Regions from separate parts of the Homo sapiens genome. Here all the other regions are linked to region 4. The links are contacts of gene promoters, found by promoter capture Hi-C in human tissues and cell types (Jung and others, 2019). All regions are on one chromosome and are shown on one strand. Each heading gives the region's core, a stretch centred on a gene start or on the middle of the fragment in contact. The rest is flanking DNA. Distances are from core to core; before and after follow the strand shown.

Region 1 (2,700 bases), core at 75-2,574, 710 kb before region 4:
TCATTTGCATTTCCAGGGTCCTCACTTGTTGTCAACCTATTTCTTCCTCAAGAGAGGTACTATAGTAATATTATAACTCCTCAAACCCTGAATCTCATCATTAGAAACATGGAACTGGAAAAAGCTGTTGATTTAATTGATATGCATATGTTGAACCTGAAAAGGTTCTAATTATTGCCATTTTTTTCCTTTTTTTTTTTTTTGAGACGGAGTTGCCCAGGCTGGAGTGCAATGGCGCGATCTCGGCTCACTACAGACTCTGTGTCCCGGGTTCAAGTGATTCTCCTGCCTCAGCCTCCTGAGTAGGTGGGATTACAGGCACGTGCCACCATGCCCAGCTAATTTTGTATTTTTAGTAGAGATGGGGTTTCTCCATGTTGATCAGGCTGGTCTCAAACTCCTTACCTCAGGTCATCCACCCGCCTCGGCCTCCCAAAGTGCTGGGATTATAGGCATGAGCCACCGCACCCGGCCTATTCCCATCTTTTTCTTTCTGGAGTTGTGTGCCTCTGCTCAAATTGTTTTATTTTTATTTTTTGAGATGGGGTTTGGCCATATTGCCCAGGCTGGTCTCCAACTACTGAGCTCAAGCGATCCCCTTGACTCGGCTTCTCAAAGTGCTGGGATTACAGGTGTGAGCCATCATGCCCAGCCACAAATTGTTTTAAGGAGTAATGAGAGTAGATGGTCAGAGGAAAATGTAGAAATGTAAATAGGAAGCTTCCAGATACATGATTAACCTGATAACTTATTTATGGAGGTTCGAAAAATACATTATAGGCATTTCAGAGCTGGTTGTTCAAAACCTTGCTGTGGCCTTTGGGATAGTTGTATAAACTGACAATTATTGATAAGATTCATTGATCATTTACTATGTGCCTCACATTGTGCTGAGAGAACTTCAAATGTTTAATACTGCTAACAAGCGTATGAACTGGTTTCCTTTTACATTTAGTCCTCCTTTACTTAAAGAAGACATTCAAATAGCTAGTAAATGACAGTGCTGGGATTTAAATCCAGATCTGACTTGTCCCTCAACTCCCCCAAGATCTTGCTTTTTTAACCACTTCGTGTCTCCTCCCTAAGCCAGAGGGGACGTCATCTCTCTAACGGCCGCTTTTTCGTCCATTAGAATACCTCCTCCTCAGAGATAAATCCCAACCAAGAATCTCTCCCACACAGGAAAGACTGCCTCACCTGAGCAAGAAGCTTCACCCTGGACAAAAACCCCGGGGCTCAACACTCCCAAATCCACCCGGATCCCCATCCCCAACCCCTTAAAGGATGTCCGCATTGCTTGGCAGAGACCCCACTCTTGGGGATAATCCCTTAATTCGTAAGGAAACACCCTCCCTCCTTGAAGCCCTCCCTCAATCCTGAGGATGCCCTCCCCTAAATATTTCAGAGCAGAACCGACTACAAATGGGGCCCAGTGCAAAATGAAAACGTAAGGGTCCCTCCTGTGAGACTGCACTGCTGGTTTACCCACGAAGCCGGCCCTGCTTCAGAGATACCCTTTCAGTAAAGGGAGAGGCCACCTCTGTCGTAATCCTGCTAACCTGGGGTGCGAGATCATGCGACCTGTCGTGGTGGGGGGGCGGGGGGGTGGGGGCAGGAATGGCCACCAACTTCTAGAGACTGTTGTTCGAGAACACACCCTGGGACAACCTCCGTGAATTTGGAATCACTTCCCTTGGCCCCGGCAGAAGCTCCCTTCCTACCTCTCCAGACAGCTGGGTGGTCCTCGTAACCCGGCCGGGGCTCCACCTTCTGGGTGTGTGGGCCTCGTAGCGTGCGGCCCATTGCCCGGGCAACCGACGCCGTGAGCGGTGCATTGTGGTCTGCAACAAAATGCAGGAGAAAGATCCTGAGGGAACCATGGAGTCAATGGACCAATGGAAGAATGCCGTGGGCTGCGTCAAGCCAATAGGGTCGCGCGGCGAGGGGCGGGGCCGGCGGGAGCAGGGCGGGGCCTGAGCACTAGGCGGCGGCGGCTGGCGTGGGGCTGCTTAGATGCGCCACGGTTTCGGTAGCGACGGTATCTCTAGCCGGGCCTGAGCTGTGCTAGCACCTCCCCCAGGAGACCGTTGCAGTCGGCCAGCCCCCTTCTCCACGGTGAGAAACTCGGGGGGCCAGGGGGTGTCCTCGCTGCCTTATTTCGCCCCACTCCGGACTTAGCCCTCCGCGTAGCCCGCGCTTCCTGAGAAGTGGGGTGGGGGGCGTCGTCCCGTGGTGGCGCCGGCCGGGGTGGGGGCAGTTAGTGCCTGGGGGGCGCGGCCCAACTCAACCCCTTACCCCAGGCCTTGCCCACTAGGTAACCATGTGCGACCGAAAGGCCGTGATCAAAAATGCGGACATGTCGGAAGAGATGCAACAGGACTCGGTGGAGTGCGCTACTCAGGCGCTGGAGAAATACAACATAGAGAAGGACATTGCGGCTCATATCAAGAAGGTGAGGATGGGCGCGGGGGCCGATACGCAGCCGGGAGCAGGGGGTTCCTTCCCCCCGATCCTGCTTTCCTAAGGGCGCCTGACAGGTCCCGGGAATACTGCTGGCGGCTTGGGGCGTAGAAGCTTCCAGAAAGGACGCAGATGCATTTTGCGCTCCTGTGGAGAAGACCAGACCCCCGGCGTCCGAAGTTTTTTTTTTTTTTTTTTTAATTACCCAGCTCCGCGGGGGGAAAGCGCCACCTAGCAACG
Region 2 (2,700 bases), core at 88-2,587, 750 kb before region 4:
CGCCACCACGCCTGGCTAATTTTTTTTTTTTTGTATTTTTAGTAGAGACGGGGTTTCACCCTGTCAGCCAGGATGGTCTTGATCTCCTGACCTCGTGATCTGCCCGCCTCAGTCTCCCAAAGTGCTGGGATCACAGGCATGAGGCACCGCGCCCGGCCTCTTAGCCATTTTTTAATACTGTCCAACAGAAACTATAAACTCCAGAAAGTCCAAGGGTTACCTTTGAATAGTATAATTATGATTTTTATTTTACTTTTGTTCTCCCAAGTTTTCTTAAATGAATACAGTCCTTGTGTTATTCAAAAAAAAAAAAAAATCTAGTACAACTCTCTTTTGTGTGTGTGTGTGTGAGACACTGTCTCACTCTGTCACCCAGGTTGGAGTGCAGTGGTGTGATCTCCGCTCACTACAAACTCTGCTTCCTACATTCAAGTGATTCTTGTGCCTCAGCCTCCCAGGTAGCTGGGATTACAGGTATGTACCACCATGCCCGGCTAACTTTTATATTTTTAGTAGAGACAGGGTTTCACCATATTGGATGGTCTCGAACTCCTGACCTCAGGTGATCCACCTGCTTTGGCCTCCCAAAGTGCTGGGATTACAGGCTTGAGCCACTGTGCCTGGCCTTTTTTTTTTTCTTCTTGCTCTGTCGCCCAGGCTTGAGTGCAGTGGTGCCATCTCAGCTCACTGCAACCTCCGCCTCCTGGGTTCAGGCGATTCTCCCGCCTCAGCCTCCCGAGTAGTTGGGATCACACGTGCGTGCCACCACGCTTGGCTAGTTTTTGTATTTTTAGTAGAGATGTGGTTTCCCCACGTTGCCCAGGCTGGTCTTGAACTCCTGAATTCAGGTGATCCACCCGCCTTAGCCTTCCAAAGTGCTGGGATTACATGCAAGAGCCACCACACCTGGCCTTTCTCCCCCACACCCCGCCGCCCCCCTCCAAGAAATTTAATGTCTGAAAAGATCATACTTGTTCAAGGCCACACAGTTAAGAATGTGCCAGGTCCTGTAACAGACTTCAACTTTCTAATATTCATACCATGAGTAAATATTTGTTGTGTCTAGCTTTGGGCTGGGTGCCACAAAAAAAGAACTAGTCCTTTCCTAAAATAATCTTATTGTGACAACTTAGTTCTCTTTTTTTTTGAGGCAGAGTATCGCTCTGTCGCCCAGGCTGGAGTGCAGTGGCGCGATCTCGGCTCACTGCAAGCTCCGCCTCCCGGGTTCACGCCATTCTCCTGCCTCAGCCTCCCAAGTAGCTGGGTCTACAGGCGCCCACCACCACGCCCGGCTAATTTTTTTGTATTTTTAGTAGAGATGGGGTTTCACCGTGTTAGCCAGGATGGTCTCGATCTCCTGACCTCGTGATCCGCCCACCTCGGCCTCCCAAAGTGCTGGGATTACAGGCGTGAGCCACCGCGCCCGGCTGACAACTTAGTTCTTATGTGCAGCCTTAGCCCAGATGTACCTGTCACATCTTTGTCCCTCTCTGACATGACTCAAACGCCATTAGGGTCTGCCCTCAGTCTGTGCCCACTCAAAGCAGGAGGAGCGTGGCTACTACCGAATACCATATCAGTGATTTAACAGACTGCTTATTTTTTTAATCTAAGTATCTGGAAGCAGGCTTACACACTTTTACACCTTGAAACAATAGTGAAGCCTCATGCAAATGTTCAAGCTCTTGTGTGTTTTTTACCGGTTTGCCATCTGAAGGCTTTAGTAAAGTCACTAGGTCCCACAGAACACTGGGAGATTCTTGAGCTGTTGGTGGCACATCTTGCTCAAGGGCAGGCACATCCACCAAAGTGGCTGTGGTGGAAAAAGCATTCATTTTAGGTGTATCAGATTGGGCTGAGATCCCAGTTGTTACTTAGCAGCCAACATCCTTAAGTTACTCTTGTGGCAAGTTTGCTTCCCCATCTCTGCTTAGCTTTCCAGCTTCATCTTCCACCCCGGCAGACCACACCCCAGCCTGCTAAACTCCCTGTCCTTCTCTGAATCTCTGAGCTCTCGGCTCTATTGCTTTGGGATTCATGCTGCTATACGTGCCAGGAAGTCCATTTCTCATACCTTCATCCCCCAATCCAGCTATTTCTTGCCCATCCTTGAACAGTGACATCAGCTATTCTGAGGATGTGCTACTCACGCAGGCTGGACTAGGTACCCTTTCTATCCTTTGGCAGGCTGTACTAACCTCTGTTAGATTTAAAATATTGTTTTTGTAATTGCTTTTACCTGTCCCCACCAAAAGACAGTTGCCCATATAATCATCAAAAACTATTTGTTAAATCAATCCAGAGAAGTAATTAGCACTTACTTCTCAGGGTTGTTCGGTCAATCTATAAACTGTAGGCTGTTATTTGGTCTACTGTTGATCCCAGCTTCTCTATCTTTGAACAGTGCCCATTAACTCAAGAATATACTGCTTCCTTGTTCTCTCCTTCTTGCCCCTCTCCATCATCCCCTAAAAGCCCCCTTCTCTGAGAGGGTAACCTTGAGCTTCTGGGTTTTGTAGATGTCTATACCTGAGATCCGACAATGTGGTAGAAGGCAACTGTGCTGATGAATTACTACAAAACTCCCATCGCGTCGTGGAGGAGTACTTTGTGGCCCCCCCAGGTACGTGCTGCCCAGAATGGTTTAACAGATAGTCTCACAGTAACCTTAGGAATGAAGCAGGAAGCATGAGGACCAAA
Region 3 (2,700 bases), core at 19-2,518, 570 kb before region 4:
CAAGTTATTCTCATGCCTACAAGTGGCTGGGATTACAGGCGCCCACCACCACGCCTGGCTAATTTTTGTATTTTTAGTAGAGACAGGGTTTCACCATGTTGGCCAGGCTGGTCTCGAACTCCTGACCTCAAGTGATCCGCCGGTCTTGGCCTCCCAAAGTGCTGGGATTACAGGTGCGAGCCACTGTGCCCGGCCTCGTGTATCCTTTTAATGAGGCCGAGCGGTGACAAGACTGTGGATGGCATTGGGGCCAGGGACCAGAACAGGGAGAGCCTGGGAGGAACCCCTCCAGCCCCCCGCAAAGCTCAAGCACCGGATACTAAAGAAGAATGGTAGATGGGGCCTCACGATGTGCAGGGGGAAGGGAACTGGCTTAACTGGATGGTCCCCTGTCCGAGCACTGGGCTAGGCCTTTTGTGTGCATAGTATCGTCTGCTGTTACCAAGAAATTAGTTATGCTTATCATCTGCATTTTACAGAAGAGGAGAACAAGGCTCAGAGAGGTTGATGACACCTGCCCAAGTTACCCAGATGGTAGGTGGCAGAGCTGGGATTTGAGATTCAGATAAGGCCTGGGACGCTCCCTGGCTGCCCACCGAGAGCAGGAATTTCTGTAGCATCTAGAAAGGCAGGAAGGTGAAAGAGGGGACAAGAGCTGGAGGGGGAGCAAATGGGTCCTACCTGAGACTTACCATCATCAGGTGCTGCCAGACCTGGCTTCTCTTCTATTCTGAGAACTGATATCCTGTGGCTGACTTACCAGGGTCGTCCTAGTCCCCCCGCACGGTATTGGGAGTGGAGGCAGCCCCACACGGAGGCGCTGGGAGACTTTCCTCCCAGCAGTGTCCTGTCACTGCATTCCGGCCCCTGCGTTTGTAGGCAGTGATGTCACAGAGTGCCTTCATGCTCCTCGGGTCTCCGGTTCTCCCCGGACCTCTGTAGTCCTCATTGCCAAAGTTGTACCCCCTGGGGAGTGCACCCTGCCTGCATTTCTGGAGGTTCGGGCGGTTCCGGGGCTCTGCAGGAGCCTCCAGGCGTGATAAAGAGCGCTGCCGGCACTCCCGGGGTCTCGGCCTCTTTGGGGCCCATTGCCAAGCCCCTTCCCTCCTCGTGCTCCCGCTCCGCGTTGCAGCGTCCCCTTCGCCGCCAGGGGCCGCCCGGAAGCGGGGCTCCCCCAGGGCGGGGCGGGGCAAGGGGCGGGGCGCGGCGGTACCTGGGCCGCCAGGGAGCCGGGGGTGGGCTCTCCGGGGACAGCCGGCAGCGCCCCCAGATCTGCACCGCCAGCCGCCGGGAGCTCCGGGCTCCGGGCGTAGAGGCTGCGCTGTCACATGGGCGGCGGCGACGGGGCCGCATTTAAGCGGCCGGGGGACGGCGCCCGCCTCCAGCGCGTCCTCGGGCTTGGCTCCCGCCGGGAGCCCCGTTCTCTGCCCGCCGGGGGCCCCGCGCCGCGCCGCACCGCGCCGCCCCCGCCGGGCCATGCGAGCGCGGGCCCCGCCGCGATGAGCTCGCACATCGCCAAAAGCGAGTCCAAGACGTCGCTGCTGAAGGCGGCGGCGGCGGCGGCGAGCGGGGGCAGCCGGGCTCCCCGCCACGGCCCTGCCCGGGACCCGGGGCTGCCTAGCCGCCGGCTACCCGGCTCCTGCCCGGCGACGCCGCAGTCGTCCGGGGACCCCAGTTCGCGGAGGCCCCTGTGCCGGCCGGCGCCGCGAGAGGAGGGCGCGCGGGGGAGCCAGCGTGTGCTCCCCCAGGCGCACTGCAGGCCCCGGGAGGCGCTGCCGGCCGCGGCGTCCCGACCTTCGCCGTCGTCGCCGCTGCCGCCGGCCCGCGGGCGGGATGGGGAGGAACGGGGACTGTCCCCGGCGCTCGGCCTCCGGGGCTCTCTGCGAGCCCGGGGCCGCGGGGACTCCGTTCCAGCCGCCGCGTCCGAGGCGGACCCGTTCCTCCACCGGCTGCGCCCCATGCTCAGCTCCGCCTTTGGCCAGGTAAGGGCCGCGCCTCCCGTCAGCGCTCCCGGGAAAGGCGCTCGGGACCCTGCCGGCCGCGGTTGCGCGTCCACAGCCTCCTCCCGCGGCCCGTGGTCCCCCACGGATCACGCCTCGGCTCACCTCGTCCTCCCCGGGCCGGCGCCCTTGCCGGCACTCCTCCTCCCCGTGCCTGATTCAGCACCCCGTGCGCTGTCCACGCTCCGGGCCTCTTGGGGCAAGGCCCTCCCCGCTAGCCTCCCTCATACCCGCCAGAACCCGCCAGTCCTGGAAGAGAGCGACCTCTACGACCGTCCTGGAGATTTGCGGGGGTCAAGGAGGGGCGCTCCGAGCAGGTGGCGCCAAACCCACTCCTCTGGCCTCTGGCCAGTACCGCCAGGGAGGGACTCAGGAGAGCAAGCGGTTTGGAGTCTGGGGGTCAAGAGAGGGGACCTCAGAGAACACAGAATTACTTGAGGGCGAGGGACACTGGCCACTGCCTATCATGTCCCTGAAGGCCTGAGAAAAGTTAGGAGATCCAAAAATATGAGGAAAGAGAAGAGGTGTCTGGGTAGGCATGGAGGGGCATGCAGAGCTGTGGCTCAAACTGGAACTTTGGGGTGGTTTAAGGAGGCTGTCACTCTAGGGATGCCATTGGAAGGGTGAGAAAGGCCACAAAGAGGTCATCAGTGGTTCCCTCAGGCCTTTCCCTCAAGAGTCCCAGGCACCTGGGAGCCTG
Region 4 (2,700 bases), core at 59-2,558:
GGTGAAAACCTGTCTCTAATAAAAATACAAAAATTAGCTGGGCGTGGTGGCGGGCACTTGTAATCCCAGCTACTCAAGAGGCTGAGGCAGGAGAATTGCTTGAACCTGGGAGGCGGAGGTTACAGTGAGCCGAGATCGCGCCACTGCACTCCAGACTGGACAAGAGTGAAACTCCGTCTCAAAAAAAAAAAGAAAAAGAAAAAGAAAAAACGTATCTGAAGGGAATGAACAAATACACATGCGGAAAATTGTATTCATGGGGTAGAACGGTGGCTGTTTCCCCCCCTTTCACTATTTTCTCTCCTAAAGTTGTGATAGCATTTTCTCAGTGGAAAGGATGACCACAGAATTATCTCCCCTGGGCTGCAACTAAGGAAGTATTTGGAGTGAGAATGCGACCAGGCTTCAAATCCAGGAGGGGTATTTTACAGGGCGTGTGGCTCTCACCCAGGGCTCACAGGACACCTGATATTTAGGCTGTTCCCCAAGAGGCTAAGGACAGCGCGGCCCCAGCTCCCCCAACCACAGCTGCCCAAGTTTAGGAGCCCGCACTCGTGAGCGATGGCTACTCCGCACAGCCCCGGGGTCCTCTACGGAAATCCCTGGCACCTATCAGTACCCCTAAGGGAGGTCGCTCGTTACCCCTCACTTGAACTCTGTCCCAAATGGGAGGTCACTCTCTCTTCGCGGACCCCATCTTCCCCGAAAGGGTCTCTTGTTCTCTCTGGCCCTCCTGAGAAGGTCATTACTCCCCAACTCGCCTTTTTTGTTGTTTTTTGGTTTCTGGTTTATTGAGGCAGGGTCTCGCTTCATCTCCCAGACTGGAGTGCAGTGGCGCGATCACAGCTCACACGGCAGCCTCTACCTCCTGGGCTCAAGCGATCCTCTCACCTCAGCCTCCCTGGGACTACAGGCGAGCGCCACTACGCCCGCTTTTTTTTTTTTTTTTTTTTTTTTTTTGTATTTTTGATAGAGACGAGGTCTCGCTATGTTGTCCAGGCTGGTCTCTAACTCAAGATTCCTCTCACCTCGGCCTCCGCAAGTGCTGGGATGACAGGTGTGAGCCACCGCCCCCGGCCCCTCGCCCGCCTTTTGAAGGAGCCTTTCGTCCTCAAGGGCGAGGCCACTCCCCCCCCGCGAGTTCCATGCCCCCTAGAGGGTCATCGTTCCCGACGGGGAGGTGGCGCCCTCCCCCGGGCCCCGGGCCCCGACCGCCCGTGCTGCCTCCTTCCGGGCCCTCCTCCGCGATGACGGCGCCGCCAGCAGGCCAGGCGGACTGGGCGGGGCTCCGAGCGGGGACTGGGACCCAGACCGACTAGGGGACTGGGAGCGGGCGGCGCGGCCATGGCGGGCTGCTGCGCCGCGCTGGCGGCCTTCCTGTTCGAGTACGACACGCCGCGCATCGTGCTCATCCGCAGCCGCAAAGTGGGGCTCATGAACCGCGCCGTGCAACTGCTCATCCTGGCCTACGTCATCGGGTGAGCGTGGGGCCGCGCGGGGGGCGCGGCGGGTGCTGCCCTCGCGTCCGCGCCGTGCGGCGGCTCATCCTGGCCTCGGTCACCTGGGCGAGTCCGGGAGCGGCGAGCCGAGGCGGTGACACCTTCCCTGGGCCCCAGCCGCCGCGCCGGGGCCCCGGGGGCGGGAGGCTGCTTGCTGCTGTTTTAAAACCACAGCCTGGGCCAGGCGCGGTGGCGCAAGCCTGTAATCCGAGCACTTTGGGAGCCCGAGGCGGGACCATCGCCTGAGCCCAGGAGTTCGAAACCAATTTGGGCAACATCGTGGGACCCCGTCTCTGCAAAAAATTAAAAATCATCCGGGCCTGGTGGCGCGCGCCTGGGGTCCCAGCTACTCAGGAGGCTGAGGTGGGAGGATCGCTTGAGCCCAAGAGGCTGAGGCTGCAGTGAGCTATGATCACACCACTTAACTCGAGCCTGGGAGACAGTCCGAGACCCGTCTGTTTACAAAATAAATAAAGGCAAAGCCTGGCTAGGCTGTTACCCTCTCCTGCCTGACCCCCCATAGTGCCCCTTGGCTGTAGGGGCTTCGCCCTGAACGTCTCAATCTTCGCTCTCCACTTCCCATCCTGCTGATTTGCTGACAAAACCAAAGCTTGGAATTTCCGCTTGGTTCCTTCTGGGTGGGTGGCTTTTGGTCATTTCTTTTGATCACTATGCGGTGTCACTATGTGGTAGTAGCGAGGTCAGACTGTAGCGAGTGTTTAAAGTTTGCTTCCTTTGTTTTCTGGGCTTGTGGGGCTTTTTGTGGTACCTGCCCTAGCCTAGTCAGTCATTCCCCATGCTGCCCCCTTAGGCTAGAGATGCCCTACCGCCCTCAGGCCTCGCTGAATGTGCCATTGTACTTGAAGGCACCTGTTACTTTTTTAATTTTTTTATTTTTTTGAGACGGAATTTCTCTCTTGTCGCCCGGGCTGGAGTGCAATGGCACGATCTCGGCTCACTGCAACCTCTGCCTCCCGGGTTCAAGCAATTCTCCTGTCTCAGTCTCCTGAGTGGCTGGGATTACAAGTGCCCGCCACCACGCCCGGCCAATTTTTGTATTTTTTAGTAGAGACGGGGTTTCAGGCTGGTCCTGAACTGACCTCAGGTGATCCGCCCACCTCAGCCTCCCAAAATGCTGGGATTACAGGCGTGAGCCCCCACGCGGGGCTGGCACCTGTTACAATTGAATACAACGCGAGAG
Region 5 (2,700 bases), core at 139-2,638, 680 kb before region 4:
CAGGAGATCCAGACCATCCTGGCTAACATGGTGAAACCCTGTCTGTACTAAAAAAAAAATACAAAAAATTAGCCGGGCATGGTGGCGGGCCCCTGTAGTCCCAGCTACTCGGGAGGCTGAGGCAGGAGAATGGCGTGAAGCCAGGAGGCGGAGCTTGCAGTGAGCCGAGATCGCGCCACTGCCTTCCAGCCTGGGGGTGACAGAGAGAGACTCAGTCTCAAAAAAAAAAAAAAAAAAAAAAAAAAAAAAAAAAGAAACCCCGTCTCTACTGAAAATACAAAAATTAGCAGGGCACAGTGGCAGATGCCTGTAATCCCAGCTACTCAGGAGGCTGAGGCAGGAGGATCGCTTGAACCTAGGAGGCTGAGGTTGCAGTGAGCCCATATTGCGCCATTGCACTCCAGCCTGGGCAACAAGAGCGAAACTCCGTCTCAAAATAAATAAATAAATAAATAAATAAATAAAAACAACCAAAAAAACCCCTATTTTTCTCTAGAGGTAAAGAACGGGGGCTTCAGACTCAGATTAAACTGGGTTTGAATACTGGTTCCGCCACTTACTGATATGTTCAACTGGGCAACTTCTTGCTTAACCTTTAAGTCTCAATTTCCTCACGTGTAATATGGTAATAACAATACCCACTACTGGAATGTTGAAAATGAGAATTGAAAATAATGTCTGTACGTTGCCTGGCACATCACAAACGCTCAGTTGATGGGATTTAGTCATCAGTATTCTGCTTTTAAAAAGGGGGCGTCTGGCTGGGCGCGGTGGCTCACGCCTGTAATCCCAGCACTTTGGGAGGCCGAGGCAGGCGAATCACCTGAGGTCAGGAGTTCGAGACCAGCCTGGTGAAACCCCATCTCTAGTAAGAATACAAAAAAGTTAGCCGGGCGTGCTGGCGGGCGCCTGTAATCCCAGCTACTCGGGAAGCTGAGGCAGGAGAATCGCTTGAACCCGGGAGGCGGAGGTTGCAGTGAGCCAAGATCGGACCATTGCACTCCAGTGTGGGCAACAAGAGCGAAATTCTGTCTCCAAAAAAAAAAAAAATCATAACTGCACAGACAACAACACTGGAACTAATTGGATGTTAAATCAACCCTAACTGGCCAGAAGAAACCAGACCATGGACGGTCAGATCCCTCCCATCCGCCCTCTCGCCCCTTTCACCTTTGCCCCCCTTCTCCTCTTCCGACACAGTCTCAAACCCAAAGTGCGTTTCCGCTGCCCGCTTCTCTTGGGACAAGAGCCGAGCACTTAGTAGGTCCCCGGGCCAAGAGCTACGAAGCCCGAGGAGCTGGCAGCCCCGCATCGCCCGCGACCACCCACGGCCGCAATAGCTCCATAGAGCACAGCTCCCGGGGGCCGCCATCTTGGTAGTCGAGTGACAACGGCCAGAGAGTACGCCTTGTTGCGTCACTCCACGAACGACGGCGGCTGGCCGGCAACATTATTAGCCGAACGCGCCCTGAAATCTGATACACAGTTGTGCCGGCATTATCTCTAGGATCCAAAGGGTGGTCTCTAAGTATCGGAAATCCCTTCCTCTCTCTCTTCTCAAATTGAATTTACAATTCACCAGGAATCAGGGGATCTCAGGGGAGCCCCGGGTCACCTCTTAGCGGCCATGTCTCTGAATCCGGCTAGGCAGAAAAGTACTAACTCGCAAGATATCCAGGAACTCTTGTTGTCTTGTGCAGAAGGGGGAAATTGAGGCATGGTGTGGTTAAAAAGCCAAGATCACGGGCCAATTCCTGCACACTTTGTTGAGCGTAAGAATCACTTGGTTTACGTTTTAAAATGAAGATTCCTGGGTCCCCAACTACCAGAGATTTTGATCTGACCTATATCCCTTTAATCTCTATTTAAACAAATTTCTCTGGCGATTCTGATGCTAAAGATGCAGACCATTCTTGAGAAACATATGTTACACTACTCTGAAAAATAAACATAGGACAGACTTCTTTGTTCTGTCCGTTTTATGAACCTAGGAAGCTCATAAATGGGAACGAAAGCTCTGGTATCCACTTAGCAAGCCAGAACCACCACTCACACTTGGTCTCCTGCTGACACAAAGCTACATTCCTAGCTCCAGGTGGCATGTCATGGGTGTTTTACTTCAGCCCCAGATTTTCAGTCTTTTTTTAATGGCAAGGGTAATGCAGACCGTCTTGTGCAAAATAAAGAACGGACGTTGTTGAGTTTTGCTTGGATTACTGTATGTTTCTGCTTTCATTCCATTTTAAATGTATGTTTCCTGTAAATATTTCACGAGGAGAAAGCGCCAATAGAAGAAACTGTTTTGAAATGAAAATTCTCTTCCTGGTTTAATATAGCCTGACAGATGGACACCTAACCGCTTTCGTTTGGGAAGTACTGCGCTGGGATTTCTGTTTCTTTCTCTTTTATTTTAAGAATGATAGAAGGTCCTCGTTGGTATAGTGATGAGAAAAAAAAAAGGAAGGATACAAGGGCGAAATGATTCATCCATGTATTCATAATTCTCATGTCTTTGTTAAAAGAAATTAAGTGGCTGGGTGCGGTGGCTCACGCCTGTAATCCCAACACTTTGGGAGCCCGAGGTGGGCGGATTGCATGAGGTCAGGAGTTCGAGACCAGCATGGCTAACATGGTGAAACCCCGTCTCTACTAAAATACAAAAATCAGCCAGGCATGGTGGTGCACACCTGTAGTCCCAGC

Evidence for each region. The method cuts DNA at HindIII sites, captures the fragments that hold promoters and counts their contacts. A contact is called where the count stands out against the background at its distance.
Region 1: a fragment that was not itself captured here is called in contact with the fragment with the promoter of P2RX4 in region 4 in 1 of the 25 tissues and cell types used here (dorsolateral prefrontal cortex).
Region 2: a fragment that was not itself captured here is called in contact with the fragment with the promoter of P2RX4 in region 4 in 2 of the 25 tissues and cell types used here (bladder and spleen).
Region 3: the fragment with the promoter of CABP1 here is called in contact with the fragment with the promoter of P2RX4 in region 4 in 2 of the 25 tissues and cell types used here (dorsolateral prefrontal cortex and lymphoblastoid cells).
Region 5: the fragment with the promoter of COQ5 here is called in contact with the fragment with the promoter of P2RX4 in region 4 in 2 of the 25 tissues and cell types used here (dorsolateral prefrontal cortex and mesenchymal stem cells).

Annotation. Positions count from the first base shown.
Region 1 is chr12:120,494,102-120,496,801 of GRCh38, forward strand. DYNLL1 (dynein light chain LC8-type 1) reads left to right here and starts at 2,012. Exons shown (of 3, transcript NM_003746.3): 1 at 2,012-2,115; 2 at 2,315-2,452. The coding sequence starts at 2,321. It overlaps NRAV (negative regulator of antiviral response), which reads right to left and starts at 1,845. Exons shown (of 2, transcript NR_038854.1): 1 at 1,722-1,845. RefSeq lists silencers at 1,556-1,605, 1,896-2,415 and an enhancer at 1,670-2,336. The HindIII fragment of the contact is 4,647 bases long and covers 1-2,700 here.
Region 2 is chr12:120,454,557-120,457,256 of GRCh38, forward strand. GATC (glutamyl-tRNA amidotransferase subunit C) reads left to right here. Exons shown (of 4, transcript NM_176818.3): 3 at 2,520-2,623. Among named protein-coding and RNA genes, the nearest start is that of GATC, 9.5 kb to the left of the region's middle. The HindIII fragment of the contact is 8,224 bases long and covers 1-2,700 here.
Region 3 is chr12:120,639,358-120,642,057 of GRCh38, forward strand. It overlaps CABP1 (calcium binding protein 1), which reads left to right and starts at 1,269. Exons shown (of 6, transcript NM_001033677.2): 1 at 1,269-1,982. The coding sequence starts at 1,329. It overlaps CABP1-DT (CABP1 divergent transcript), which reads right to left and starts at 1,165. Exons shown (of 2, transcript NR_183426.1): 1 at 693-1,165. RefSeq lists silencers at 1,129-1,428, 1,649-1,748, 1,759-1,928, 2,149-2,248. The HindIII fragment of the contact is 37,846 bases long and covers 1-2,700 here.
Region 4 is chr12:121,208,821-121,211,520 of GRCh38, forward strand. It overlaps P2RX4 (purinergic receptor P2X 4), which reads left to right and starts at 1,309. Exons shown (of 12, transcript NM_002560.3): 1 at 1,309-1,478. The coding sequence starts at 1,345. It overlaps LOC105370032 (a long non-coding RNA gene), which reads right to left and starts at 1,252. Exons shown (of 4, transcript XR_001749352.3): 1 at 1,029-1,252. RefSeq lists a silencer at 1,015-1,754 and an enhancer at 2,085-2,134. The HindIII fragment of the contact is 10,060 bases long and covers 1-2,700 here.
Region 5 is chr12:120,527,770-120,530,469 of GRCh38, forward strand. It overlaps COQ5 (coenzyme Q5, methyltransferase), which reads right to left and starts at 1,389. Exons shown (of 7, transcript NM_032314.4): 1 at 1,171-1,389. The coding sequence starts at 1,372. RefSeq lists enhancers at 379-1,149, 1,150-1,919, 1,266-1,725. The HindIII fragment of the contact is 25,598 bases long and covers 1-2,700 here.